5 separate regions of the Homo sapiens genome follow, and all the other regions are linked to region 4. The links are contacts of gene promoters, found by promoter capture Hi-C in blood cells and fetal thymus (Javierre and others, 2016). All regions are on one chromosome and are shown on one strand. Each heading gives the region's core, a stretch centred on a gene start or on the middle of the fragment in contact. The rest is flanking DNA. Distances are from core to core; before and after follow the strand shown.

Evidence for each region. Contacts are between HindIII fragments. The CHiCAGO score rates a contact against its expected background, and 5 or more counts as called.
Region 1: a contact is called between a fragment that was not itself captured here and the fragment with the promoter of CRTAM in region 4, in 12 of 17 cell types (megakaryocytes, naive CD8 T cells, naive B cells and 9 more). The highest score is 10.4, in megakaryocytes.
Region 2: a contact is called between a fragment that was not itself captured here and the fragment with the promoter of CRTAM in region 4, in 1 of 17 cell types (naive CD8 T cells). The highest score is 5.9, in naive CD8 T cells.
Region 3: a contact is called between a fragment that was not itself captured here and the fragment with the promoter of CRTAM in region 4, in 2 of 17 cell types (total CD8 T cells and naive CD8 T cells). The highest score is 6.8, in total CD8 T cells.
Region 5: a contact is called between a fragment that was not itself captured here and the fragment with the promoter of CRTAM in region 4, in 2 of 17 cell types (naive CD8 T cells and total CD8 T cells). The highest score is 9.5, in naive CD8 T cells.

Annotation. Positions count from the first base shown.
Region 1 is chr11:122,632,578-122,635,277 of GRCh38, forward strand. No RefSeq gene overlaps it. Among named protein-coding and RNA genes, the nearest start is that of UBASH3B, 22 kb to the right of the region's middle. The HindIII fragment of the contact is 2,858 bases long and covers 13-2,700 here.
Region 2 is chr11:122,699,572-122,702,271 of GRCh38, forward strand. The region is part of intron 1 of UBASH3B (ubiquitin associated and SH3 domain containing B); the gene reads left to right. Among named protein-coding and RNA genes, the nearest start is that of UBASH3B, 45 kb to the left of the region's middle. The HindIII fragment of the contact is 1,103 bases long and covers 797-1,899 here.
Region 3 is chr11:123,027,640-123,030,339 of GRCh38, forward strand. No RefSeq gene overlaps it. Among named protein-coding and RNA genes, the nearest start is that of SNORD14E, 29 kb to the right of the region's middle. The HindIII fragment of the contact is 2,618 bases long and covers 1-2,560 here.
Region 4 is chr11:122,837,107-122,839,806 of GRCh38, forward strand. CRTAM (cytotoxic and regulatory T cell molecule) reads left to right here and starts at 1,394. Exons shown (of 10, transcript NM_019604.4): 1 at 1,394-1,486. The coding sequence starts at 1,441. The HindIII fragment of the contact is 4,925 bases long and covers 1-1,751 here.
Region 5 is chr11:122,680,742-122,683,441 of GRCh38, forward strand. All of the region lies in intron 1 of UBASH3B (ubiquitin associated and SH3 domain containing B), which reads left to right. Among named protein-coding and RNA genes, the nearest start is that of UBASH3B, 26 kb to the left of the region's middle. The HindIII fragment of the contact is 1,214 bases long and covers 796-2,009 here.

The DNA.
Region 1 (2,700 bases), core at 192-2,691, 200 kb before region 4:
CATTATGTAGGAAGCTTAACAATTACTCAATCCTTTGATAAGTTCACAGCACATCCAATTTGCCTGGATTACATCTTTACTCACTTTTCAAGAATTTCTGGGCCAGACGCAGTGGCTCACGCCTGTAATCCCAGCACTTTGGGATGCCGAGGCGAGCAGATCACCTGAGGTCAGGAATTTGAGACCAGCCTGGCCAACATGGCAAAACCTCGTCTCTACTAAAAATACAAAAATTAGTCAGGCATGGTGTCAGGTGCCTGTAGTCCCAGCTACTCGAGAGGCTGAGGCAGGAGAATCGCTTGAACATGGGAGGTAGAGGTTGCAATGAGCTGAGATCTTGTCACTACACTCCAGCCTGGGCGATGGAGCAAGACTCCATCTCTAAAATAAAATAAAATAAATAAAAATAAAAAAGAATTCTGTCTTCCTTAGAAAAAGAAGTGAATAGGAAAGGAAGTACATTTTTTAAGACTCTACATCGGACACTTTATATACATTATCCTATTTTCTCTTGAAAATGAGTATTATTATCACCTCTACTTAATCAATGCAGAAACTAATACACAAAAGTGTAATTAACTTGCCCCAGGTAATATCGCTGAGAAATAACAGTTCGAACTCAGATCCATCTGGCTACAAAGCACGTGGTTTTAAACGACCCTACACTGATTTCCCATTGTCTTCTGTATGTACACCTAGCTATTGATGGTGATGATGATGGTGATGAGGAGAATATTGATTGCAATATGCTGATTAACTCAATTACAGAATCAGGTTCTCATGGTTCTAGAACAGAAGCAAGACAATGTTAACAACCAACACAAGAGGGACCTGTAACACCAGACTATAGGGAAATAGAGAGTTTCTAAAGCCAGCCGGCCCATGCCTGAATCCCAGGAGAGAAGCAGTCCTCGCAACACTGTTGCTGCTTCCAATACAGAGAGTTCAATATTGCATTTTAATCCGTAACTGATCCTCTGATTAATTTTAAAAATTTATTTTTATTTTTATTTTTTTTAGAGACAGGGACTTGCTGTATCACCCAGGCTGGAATACAGGGACGTGATCACAGCTCACTGCAACCTCAACATCCTGGACTCGTGCAATCCTCCCACCTCAGCCTCCTGAGTAGCTGGGACTACAGGTGTGTCACCAAGCCTGGCTAATTTTTTAAGTTGTCTGTAGAATCGGGGTCTTGCTATATTCCCCAAGCTAACCTGGAACTACTAGCCTCAAGTGATTCTCCCACCTCAGCCACCCAAAGTGCTGGGATTACAGGCGCGAGACACCACATCCAGCCATTTCATTAAATTTAAATGAGTCTGTTAATAAGACATTAAGAGGCTGGGCGAGGTGGCCCTTGCCTGTAATCCCAGCACTTTGGGAGGCTGAGGGGGGCAGATCACTTGAGGCCAGCGGTTCGAGACCAGCCTGGCCAACATGGAGAAACCCCATCTCTACTAAAAATTAAATAATTAGCCTGGCATGGTGGTGGGCACCTGTAATCCCAGCTACTCAGGAGGCTGAGGCAGGAGAATCGTTTGAACCTGGGAGGTGGAGGTTGCAGTGAGCCGAGATCGTGCCACTGAACTCCAGCCTGGGTGACAGAGTGAGACTTTGTCTCAAAAAAAAAAAAAAAGACTTTAAGATGGAATTTTGCATGGATTTCAACAAAACTACATGTGGCTTCATCATATGTGACTTTGTTTATTTTTATTTTATTTCATTTAGATTTATTTATTATCTAGATTAAATACAGAAACAATTTTTATGAAAAAACATTTTTAAGTAAACAATCCAAGGCATCTATTTTGAATGGAAACAAGGAATTTTCAAATTTAATCCCAATAACAAATCCAGCATTCTCATTAAAGAAAAGATAGTCAAATAAGGTCACTATGCTCCTGGCTGAACTGTGTGTTTTCAGGAGTGGGAGCGAGTGAGAGAGGGAGAGGATCAAATATAAAAAATCCAGAAAAGAGAGGGGAAATAGAATGAGAAACAGATGGTCTCAGATTTCCAAACCGGAACATTTTTTTTCTTTTTGGGGGTTGGTTAGTTACCATTTGTAATCTGAACCAAAAAGAGGAGGCAGTTACAATTGCCTTTTAGTGACAACTCACACAGCTGGTGGTGGCTGGAAGTCAGGCCAGCAACTTCCTGGATGCAGGGTAAGGCGAGCTCCAGGCCCTTTGCCCCACCCCACACGCGGTGCCGGCTACTGTTCCTACCGCTCCTGGTGCCTTCCAGTTTAGGGCTTGGTTCAGGCTGACTGAGAGTATCTCTGGTCCCACGGAGCCAGCCTTGGTTTGGGCCCTGTGTGTGGTTTGTTGTTGTTGTTGTTGTTGTTGTTGTATTGTTTTTTGTTTTTTGAGACAGAGTCTCCCTCTGTTGCCCAGGCTGGAGTGCAGCGGCGCGATCTCAGCTCACTGCAACCTCCACCTCCCAGGTTCAAGCGATTCTCCTGCCTCAGCCTCCCTAGTAGCTGGGATTACAGGCACGCACCACCACACCCGGCTAATTTTTGTATTTTTAGTAGAGACAGGGTTTCACCATGTTGGCCAGGCTGGTCTCGAACTCCCAACCTCAAGTGATCCACTCACCTTGGCTTCCCAAAGTGCTGGGATTACAGGTGTGAGCCACCGTGCCCAGCCCTGTGTGTGGTTTTTATACTCAGCCCTATCTATAGTGTGCTGAGCA
Region 2 (2,700 bases), core at 98-2,597, 140 kb before region 4:
TCTTTTCTTTCTTTCCTTTCTTTTTTTTTTGAAACAAGGTCTCCCTCTGCCACCAGGCTGTAGTGCAGTGGTGCAATCTCTGGTTACTGCAACCTCCGCCTCCAGGGCTCAAGCGATCCTCCCACCTCAGCCTCCTGAGTAGCTAGGACTAGAGGCAAATGCCATGACAGCCAGATAATTTTTGTATTTTTTTGTAGAGACATGGTTTCGCCATGTTGCTCTGGCTGGTCTTGAACTCCTGAGCTCAAGTAATCTACCTGCCTCGGCCTCCCAAAGTGCTGGGATTACAGGCATGAGTCACCATGCCCAGCCCAGATGACTGATATTTCAATGTCTTGTAATCTATTAAGGTTTACGTAAATATTATTGTTTAGCTTTGGAAATCGATCAAGGAATTGACAATGGTACCCAGAGCCCAGCAGTGGAACTAGAGGTCGTGTTGTTGGTGGTGCTTTATTCACTTGGCCGTATTCAGTGGGTAGGTTTGCAGCATGAGGTATCATGTGTGGGTACTAGCGGAGACCCGACATGCTGCACATCTGAGAGGCCAAGAGAAACTGAGGTAACCATCATTCCCCCGGGAGCAGCACCGCTGTTGGAGTGAGGAAGAGGTCAGTCTCTTATGATTAGGTAGAGATCCAATTCCTCAACACTTTGAACTAGCACAAAGTCCCCAGTGCTGAATGAGATGGGCTGACATCATAAGCTTTGTCTCCTCCTTTGTTTAGGCTCTGACCAGAGTTACACATGGTGAGTCCATTTTTAAAATTCATTTCCCAAGTTTGGGATTTTGTTAAGCTTTATGGTTTAGTGGATACAGTTAACAATTCTTTTCCAAACACCATTACATCTTAAGTTTTTTTCACATTTTTCAATGTAAATGTTCATATGTTCATCTTACTCACTCTCATAGTTTACTTCTGATCTTTTTTTTTTTTTTTTTGAGATGGAGTCTCGCTCTGTCACCTAGTCTGAAGTGCAGTGGCATGATATCGGCTCACTGCAACCTCCACCTCCCGGGTTCAAACAATTCTCCTGCCTCAGCCTCCCCAGTAGCTGGGATTACAGGTGCTCACCACCACACCCAGCTAAATTTTGTATTTTTAGTAGAGATGGGGTTTCACCATGTTGGTCAAGCTGGTCTTGAACTCCTGGCCTCAGGTGATCCACCCTCCTCGGCCTCCCAAAGCGCTGGGAATATAGGCATGAGCCAAAGCACCTGGCCTACTTCTGATCTTGATGTTAACAGTAGGGGATGCAATTTGTAGAGGAAGTGTGTTTCTGACAGGTGAGAGAACACTTCATGTAGGGTGAACAGTAAACTGTCCCAGACAGGGATGTGCTATGTAGATGAGCACTGGGAAGCCTGTGTTTTCTCAGAGCTCCTGAAGACACCCTGCTCCACATTAAACCAGAATCATCACGTCTCATCACAAAAAGAACATTAGTGTTATGGGGTATATTTTCTGTTTCATATTAAAAATTCCCAACCCCCAGCATTCTGACCCTGTCAAGCCCACGGGCTGCTACTAATTTGCATGGTTGTGTGATTTGTGTGATTCTGCTCCATCTGCTTTGAATTTCTTGGCTTCTTTGTCCAAGACGTTAATAACTCTAGTCATTTCTTGTGAGGATTTAAGGATGTTATTGATTGATTTTGGATTACAAAGAAACAAAAAGACAGTAGGCAATGTTCTAATTGGGTCTTCTTATTGTGCACTGTAGCCTGAATCCCCCAGGGTAATTAATATGAAGTGCAAAAAGTTGAATGTTCCAGTCTAAAAGGCAGTGGGAGAAATTACATAGCATGGAAATAATAAAATGAACTCTTATTAATGAGAACGAGGCTCTTGCAGTGGCAAGTTCTGCTGGTCACCCGATGGGGATGGGAGCCTTTCAAGCTTTTTTTTGGGTAATACTCACAGTTTCCAACGTCTGTGTACTTTTCAAAATGAGCTTGTTCTTCCTTCTGACACTCATCTCAAAGCTCCATGGTGACGCAGAGGTCTGTTGAAGGTCACAGGGTCCTCGCTTGCATTGGCATACGGTCCTGTAGCATCACTTGTTAGCCCACTGCTGCTTGAAGGAACTAAGAGTATTCAGGGATAGAGAGCTGAAAATAGGATTAATTCTTTCCTTTTGACTCTCCCCTCAAGATGTCCTTGCTTTGGTCTGAAAACCTCTCCTGACAACTTTTGCCCAAAGCAAACCATCTGCCTTTTCTGAACTCTGAGTGAATATATTAGCATCTTCCCTTCTGAGCCCTCGTACTGCCATGTTTGTTTGTTTGTTTGTTTCCAAGAAACTGTGTCTTGCTCTGTCACCCAGGCTGGCATGTAGTGGCATGATCATGCTCACCGCAGCCTCAAACTCCTGGGCTCACGTGATCCTCCTGCCTCGGCCTCCCAAAATGCTGGGATTACAAGTGTGAACCACCACGCCCAGCTGTAATGCCACATTTCAATCTTCCCTCCCAGTGAAGACGACCGTTTCTTTGAGGACAGATGCTGTGTTCTTTACTTCTCTATGTCTCCCTTAGTCCTAACATGTGGCTTCCAAGTAATGCAGCGTATGCTCAACCAAGAGGGATGGTCAGCAAACAGCCCATGAGGAAAAGTAGCATTTGTTCCTAGGAAAACCGAATTATTTGCTTTAGTAATGAATCCAAGTCCAACATAGTTACGTGCAAGGAAACATTTC
Region 3 (2,700 bases), core at 2-2,501, 190 kb after region 4:
GCAAAAGCCTGGAATTGAGACAGGGCAAAGAGATTTGCAAAACTGAAAGAGTTCGTGGCCCAAGTGATGAGTGGTGAGAAATGAAGTCAGAGATTAGTAGGGACCAGATCATACAGGGCCTTTTCAGTGGAGTGAAAGAGCCTGGACTTCACCTTTAAGGCTGTGGAAGCCGTGGTGAGATGGAGGCAGGAGGAGCATCTCAATGGCCCTTCAGAAAGATTTCTAAGGCAGCAAAGTGGAGATTTATAGAGGAGATTCACAGCAGGCCACACTGGAGCCAGAAGAGGCGGGAGGCTTTTGTGGTGATCCAAAGAGGAGATGGTAACGTGCTGGACAAAGAGAAGTGGACAGATTGGAAAGATCCTTAGAAGGTTGAATCCTTTTGCTTTCCACTAAGATATGAGCACTATGAGAAGAGAATTTTTCAACAGCTTTATTGAGATGTTAGGCACGTACCATACAATTCACCCCTTTAAAATGTACAGTTGAATAGCGTTTAGTATATCCACAGCTGAGCATCCATTGCCAAAATAGATTTTAGAACATTTCTGTCAACCAGGCAAAATCCCATATCCATTAGTAGTCACTCCATATTTCTCCCCAAACTCCCTCCCCCAAGCCCTAGGCAACCACCTGTCTGCTTTCTATTTCTATAGATTTGCCTATAGACATTTCATAGAAATAGAATCATACAATATGGTCTTTTGTGACTGGCTTCTTTCACTTGGCATAATGTTTTCAAGGTTCTTCTATGTTGCAACATGTATCAGTACTTCATTACTTTATGGCTGACTAATATACCGTTATATGGATATGCCACATTTTATTTATCCATTCAATAGTTGGACATTTGGAGCGTTGATACTTTTTGGCTATTATGAAGAACACTGCTATGAACATTCATGTATGCATTTTTGTGTGGATGTGTGTTTTCATTTCTCTTGGTACATACCTGGGAGTGGAATTTCTAGGTCATATGGTAACGCTATGTTTAACTTTTTGAGGAATCGCAAAGCGACTGCACTATTTTACATTCCTACCAACAGTGTATGAGGAGTTCAAATGTTTAATATCTTTGCTAACACTTATTATTAGTAGTCTTTTTTACTGTAGCCATCTTGATTGGTGTGTAATGGTACTTCATTGTTGTTTTGGGTTGCAATTCCCTTATGGCCAATGATATTAAACATCTTTTCATATGCTTGTTTTGAAGCCTGCCACCTGGGTTCAAGCGATTCCCCTGCCTCAGCCTCCTGAGTAGCTGGGACTACAGGCACCCACCACCACACCTGGCTTATTTTTGTATTTTTAGTAGAGACGGGGGTTTCACCATGTTGGCCAGGCTGGTCTCAAACTCCTGACCTCAGGTGATCCACCCGCCTCAGCCTCCCAAAGTGCTGGGATTACAGGTGTGAGCCACCACGCCCATCCTCTGATGACTATTATGAATGCCTGAAGGAGAGCAACTGGTAATTACTGTGCCTCTGCTGTGTGTCAAGAGCTTTCATAAATGACCTATCATTTATTCTCTTCAATCACCTTGTTTCTACAGCACGTCCCTGATGAGCCAGTTTGATCACAGACAAAATGGAAATTATACTTCATGCTAAATGAATGACAAACCTCTTTCAAAGACTTACAAAACATTGTTTTTGTAATGTATTCTGGAGTTTTGCCATGATCAATTTCAAGAATACTGGTCTATACTTTCTAGAATTTACTTCTTCCCTCCCATGTGTACTTGTCTTTTGTTTTCTGGCACTAATTTTTTTTTTTTTTTTTGAGACGGAGTCTCCCTCTGTTGCCCGGGCTGGAGTGCAATGGCGAGATCTCAGCTCACTGCAACTTCCACCTCCCAGGTTCAAGTGATTCTCCTGCCTCAGCCTCTCAAGTAGCTGGAATTACAAGCACCTGCCATCATGCCCAGCTAATTTTCATATTTTTAGTAGAGATAGGGTTTTGCCATGTTGGCCAGGCTGGTCTTGAACTCCTGACCTCAGGTTATCCACCTGCCTCAGCCTCCCAAAGTGCTGGGATTACCGGCGTGAGCCACCACACCCAGCCATCTGGCACTAATTTTGCCCACAATTTTTTTAGCTAGAACTAACGCCATTTCCATAATCAAGTGAATTTGAGTTTACAGTTTCAGAAATACACACGACCTAGAATAAATGTCTCTGTGTCTTTCTTTCTGTGTTTCCACCTGCCTGTTACTTCCTGTAATATCAGCTGAAAGGACACAAATGTCACTTCATAGACAACTCTTACAGAGGCTCCTCAACTTCTTCCTAACATTAAGCACAGCTCGACACAAAACCAAGGGAAACTGGGCAAATTTTATTACTGGACAAATTTTATTCACTGCCCATTTTTCCATTTCCTGAGGCCCACTGGTATTTAAATGGGGTCAACTCTGATTACCTTTAGGCATATGGATGCAGGGCTAATTTTCTGAACTTATTTTCAGCATAATAGGGCATTCTCATTTCAAACAAAAAAACCCCATCATGCTTTCTTCACCTGCTCAAAGATGCAGCCCCACCATCCCCATCTCCCTAAAAGCTTTCTGCAGCCCACTAAAAATATCCAATGTTGACAGATGTAAGCTATCAATACAGAGACTCAAGATCCCAGGGTGAGAAGTGGCCAGAGGCGAAGTCTTGATAAACAGCTCAAATTGGCTCTTACTCCACAGGTGAC
Region 4 (2,700 bases), core at 144-2,643:
AGTAAGACTTTTCCTACCCAAACTTCATCAAATTTATCAGAGTATTAACACTAATTTCAATTAGAGCCAGTAAGTAGTGTTTCCTTTTCATTTTCCAAGCATTGCAGACTGATCTCTGTTTTCTAAACATAAACTTACTAATATTTTACTGTGTGCTCCTGGAAAAACTACATTAAATCTATCTCAATTTGTCCAATTAATGAAAATTAAATACCAGAACTGTTCATATGTACATTGTCTCCCCCACTAGATTATATTCTCCTGAAAAACAAGGAATTTATGTTTTTTATTTGAGCATGTCTCAAAGTAGTGCATACTAGATGCTGTACAGGTGACAAGATGAATGGGTGGATAGAAGGATGGATGGATGGATGGATGGATGGATGGATGGACGGACGGACATATGTATAGATAGATGGGTGGGTAAATGGATGAATGAGTGGGTGAATGGATGAATGCGTGGGTGGATAGATAGATGGGTGGTTGGGTGGATGGATGAGTATTTGCATGTATAGATAGATGGGTGGGTGAATGAATAGGTCATGGACGGATGGATGGATGGATAGATGGATGGGTGAATGGATGGATGGGTGGATAAATGGATGGATGGATGGATGGATGGATGGATGGATGGATGGATGGATGGATGGATAGATGGATAGATGGATGGATAAATAGATGGATGGCTGGCTGGCTGGATGGATGGAGAGATGGATGGATGTGTGGATGAATAGATGGATGGATGGGTGGATGGGGAATGAGTGGGCAGGTAATACATGAGTGAGTGGGTGGATGGAAGGATAAATGGATGGGTGGATGGATGTGTGGGTGGATGGATGGAAGGATGGATGGATGGATAGGTGGATGAATAGATTTGTATTTGTGAGTGGGTGGATGAAAAGATGGGTGGATGGGTGGGTGGACAGATATATAGATTTCAAAAATGAGTATATCTATATGAATGAATGAATTCCTCCCCGACAACAATTATAAATTGATGTCAGCATAGAAATAAAATATTCCCAAAGGTTGAGCAAAAATTATCTAATTGTATTTATCTAATAAACTAGAAAAGTAAAAATAAGGATGACGTCACTACACAGGGACATTTTACAGTATTTCTCCCACCCATGCTCCCTCTAAAAACCTTGCAACTAGTTGATTTACCAGTACTACCCACTTGTGGTAAAACAATTTTTGTCACCAACACATCACTCACACCTCTCTGCCATCAAGATAATACATGTGGTCCCCAAAATGTTCCACCAGGAGGTGTTCTGGGGGCAGCTAACTAAGAGGGGGCTTCCAGACAGATGGAGGAGTTGATACACATGAGGTCACAGATCTACTGCCTCTCCCCCTTTAAAAGAAACTACTCAGCTCCATTTGTCTCAGAATCTAGAGGAAGTTGACAAAGGTGCCACAGCAGCACAGCACAGTATGTGGTGGAGAGTTCTCAGCTTGCTGGCATGGTTCCCCTTGCAAGGTAAGGACTTAGAGTTATTTTTGTTGTTGCTCAGCTGACTTAATGTTTTGCCACATCTACCTATCAGTCAGTCAACTGCATTTACAGAGGAGCTGCTGTAGAAGACAACCCAGGTAACTGCTAATACTTTCCAAGCCATGCTCAAATCATGCATCTGAGGGATGTTACTGCGTTTATTTGATCTCTCGTTCAATGGCTAAGGAGTATAGAAAGGATCATTATAGTGTGTGTCTCTGTGGGTCCTATGTTACGGCAAGATGAAACAAGCTTATTAGGCTCTGTCTTTTAAGGGCATACCAGTTGAAAGAGCATCCGTATTGAATTTTATTTTATTTTATTTATTTATTTATTTATGAGACACAGTCTCGCTCTGTCGCCCAGGCTGGAGTGCAGCGGCACGACCTCGGCTCACTGCAAGCTCCGCCTCCCGGGTTCACGCCTTTCTCCTGCCTCAGCCTCCCAAGTAGCTGGGACTACAGGTGCCCGCCACCACCACGCCCGGCTAATTTTTTTATATTTTTAGTAGAGACGGGGTTTCACCGTGTTAGCCAGGATGGTCTCAATCTCCTGACCTCGTGATCTGCCCACCTCAGCCTCCCAAAGTGCTGGGATTACAGGCGTAAGCCACCGCGCCCGGCCTCCACGTTGAATTTTAAAATTTCCTTGCTGTATAAATCTTAGCCAAACGATTTAATCTCTTTGAAACTCAGTTTCTGCATCTTAAAATGAAAATGATAAAAACTTTTGATCCACCAAACTCCCTGGATTGTTAGAAGGATCAAATTTCAAATGTGAAAGCACTTTGAAAATGATAAAGCGCTGTGCAACACTTATTTAGCTCAGAGGTAATAATGAGACCAATGAAAACTTCGTGTTTATTTTTAAAGAGTAAGTTATACTTTACATTTTACTATAATTTTCAAATTTGGATTTTAGTGCTTAATCCTAATGTAGCATTATGAAAATTAAGGATAGAAGCAGTTACCTTTTTGGAGCAGGTCAAATTATTTTCTACCCAAAAGTGGGGGCAGGGGTGTAGGAAGTGGCTCCTGTTGTCCCTCAGTCTCTGCTTACAATTGTATCAGATTCATGCAAAGGACATCCCTCACAAATCCACTCAAAAATTTTGCTTTTTGTGTGTTTGTTACCAAATATTGAAACTGTAGTTCTGTTTCATGAAATGCACCTATCCTTCTAAATCTACATTTAATCTG
Region 5 (2,700 bases), core at 153-2,652, 160 kb before region 4:
CGTGAGCCACCGTGCCTGTCTGTGCTCTTCCTTTATTCTATGCATAACTGATTTGAAAGGAGAACCAGAGTCCTGTCTTTTCTCCTCTACAACAGAGCAGAGTAAAGGATGCGTAAAAGGCAAATTAACCTTTTTTCTGATATGTTGCAAATGGTTAGTTAAGGGCTTTTTAATGTCAGAGCTGCCGTGTCAAAGCCAAAATGCTGTGAGCAGCCGGTCCCAGGGCAATGTGTTTGTCCAGAGCAAGACCCGAGGCATTTCAATACCTGAAATAAGATACCAAAACTCTTTTTTATTTAGCAAAATAAAAGTTAGATTAGGTGCTATTCCATAACAAATGAAGTTTCGCTAGAAATTATTTAATTTATTCGTATTTGTTTTTGTTGAAACCTTGCTCTTTCATAGTAATTAATGAATCATTCATTGTAATAGTTACTTAAAAGCATAATAGAATGAATCAAGCATTCCATTTGGTTTCTTATCCATAACTGTAGGGTGTCTAAGTGATTTTTCTTGTGACAAAATCCAAGACGTTGATTTCTTTAAATCCACCCAAAATTTCTACATACATAGCCCCAACTCTGGCCCTATTTCTTCTTGTTCTAGCCAGATTCCTCAGTCAAACAGGAACAGTGCTCACAGAGGAAATGGAGTTTTGCCTTCTTGTACCTCTGATGCTTTGGTTTTGGACACAGAAAGGCAATGATGAGATTGAGAATATAAGTCCCAGACAAGCCACACTGAACAGTCCACTCTGAAATCACGTGTGTAGTAGGTCCTCGGGGAACATGGATAAGCTTCCCTCCAAAGAAAGCCGAGTCCTGGGAAGTAGGGACCTGGTCATCCACTGTTTGAATGTCCTGTTCCTTGTTCTTCCACCATGACACTGGGATAGCATGCTGTCTGCAGGGGTAATAGGCACAGGTTCATATGCATTCTTCTGTACACACATGCACACACACACACACACACAGGCACATGCATGCAAACCCACATGCTTACCCCTCTGGCTTGCTTGATCCCTTCAGGGTTTGAAAAAAAGATGCTTCTATTTGGAGGCTGGTAGAAGCCTGTTAGGTTACTGAGTACTTTTGGGGAAGGGACACAAAGAGACAAGTCATCTGTTGCCATCACACAACTGCATGGTCAGCGTGTCTGCGATCCACGATGCTCTGCCTGGGTTTGGGAAGCCTTGTGTGCTGAGTGTGGCAGCAGCAAGGCTGACTCATCACTGCCACCCAGGGTGGCCCAGCTGTCAGAACAAGATGGGCCCATCTCCTGTCTGTTCTCCCTGCCTTGTCAAAAAAGCACCAGTCGTGAATCATCTGCCCATGTACAGCCACTTGGAAGCTCGGAGGGATCACTGCGAGGATAGCGAGTGCAAATTCTCCTCCTGCGTAGTACCCTGCCAACCCTGCCGACGCACCATGAGGCCTTGGACAAATTGCTTTTTCTTAAATAATTAATTATAATAGTTTTCATTTATTTAGTAGTTGACTGTGTGGATGGTACAACGGAGCCACCAACAGACACAAGTCTGACCCACGGCACCAAGCTGCCTCTCACCGTCCAGTATGAGATCTCATCTCATCCTCGTGGCAGTTATTTGATATGGATGATAGTTATATTCCCATTTTTATAGATGGGGACGCTGAGGCGTTCACTTGTCCTGAGAAGTTCACTTGTCCCTGTTGTGGGGCAAGGAGTGACTCTAACCTTCTGACTCCAAATTCCATATTCTTTCCAGTCTGCCTTTCCCGAGTTTGTATCTTTCCCTGTAAAAAGTTGAGAAACACTTCTTTCTCCTTCATTTGGTTCCTGGAGCCTGAGATGCACGTCTCTTTCTAACCGAGAGCTTCTTTGAGGAAGATGGTAATTAGGACACTAGGGGCCAGCTCTCCTCTCATTCTCTCCTGGCAGGGCTAGAGGAATAACCCAGCTCTGGGCTGCCTGTAGCTTCCCCTCCCCTCCAAGAGGGAGCTGCACCAAGCCCAGCACTGTCACGGGGAAGCTTGCTCTGTAGAATTCACCAGCCATCCTACAGTGATTATAAATATAATAAACTACTGATTAAAAAAATTTAATGGAAATTTTCTAACTTATCCTAAGGTAGTAAGAATAGTATAACAAAACAAATGCGTCAAGCAATTCATCCTTGATCCTGTTTCATCAATACCACCCACTTCCCCACCCTCCCCATATAATTTTGAATTAAATTTTAGAGTGAGGCATGGTGGCTTATGCCTGTAATCACAAAACTCCGGGAGGCCAAGGCAGGAAGATTGCTTGAGCCCAGGAGTTGGTCTTGCGGCCAGCCTGGGCAATACAGTAAGACCCCATCTCTACAAAAAATAAGTTACCCAGGCGCATGGTGGTGCATGCCTGTAGTCACAGCTACTTGGGAGGTTGAGGTGGGAGGATCCCTTGAGCCTTGGAAGTCGAGGCTGCAGTGAGCCGCCACTGCACTCCCGCCTGGAGACAGAGTGAGACCTTGTTTCAAAAAAAAAAAAAAAAAGTCTTAGATGTATCATTTAGTCTGTATTTCAGTTTGTATCTTTAAAAGACTGTGACTATTTAAATTATGACCACAGGGCCTGGCATGGTGGCTCATACCTGTAATCCCAGCAGTGTGGGAGGCCAAGGCGGGCAGATCGCTTGAGGTCAGGAGTTGGAGACCATCCTGGCCCACATAGCAAAACC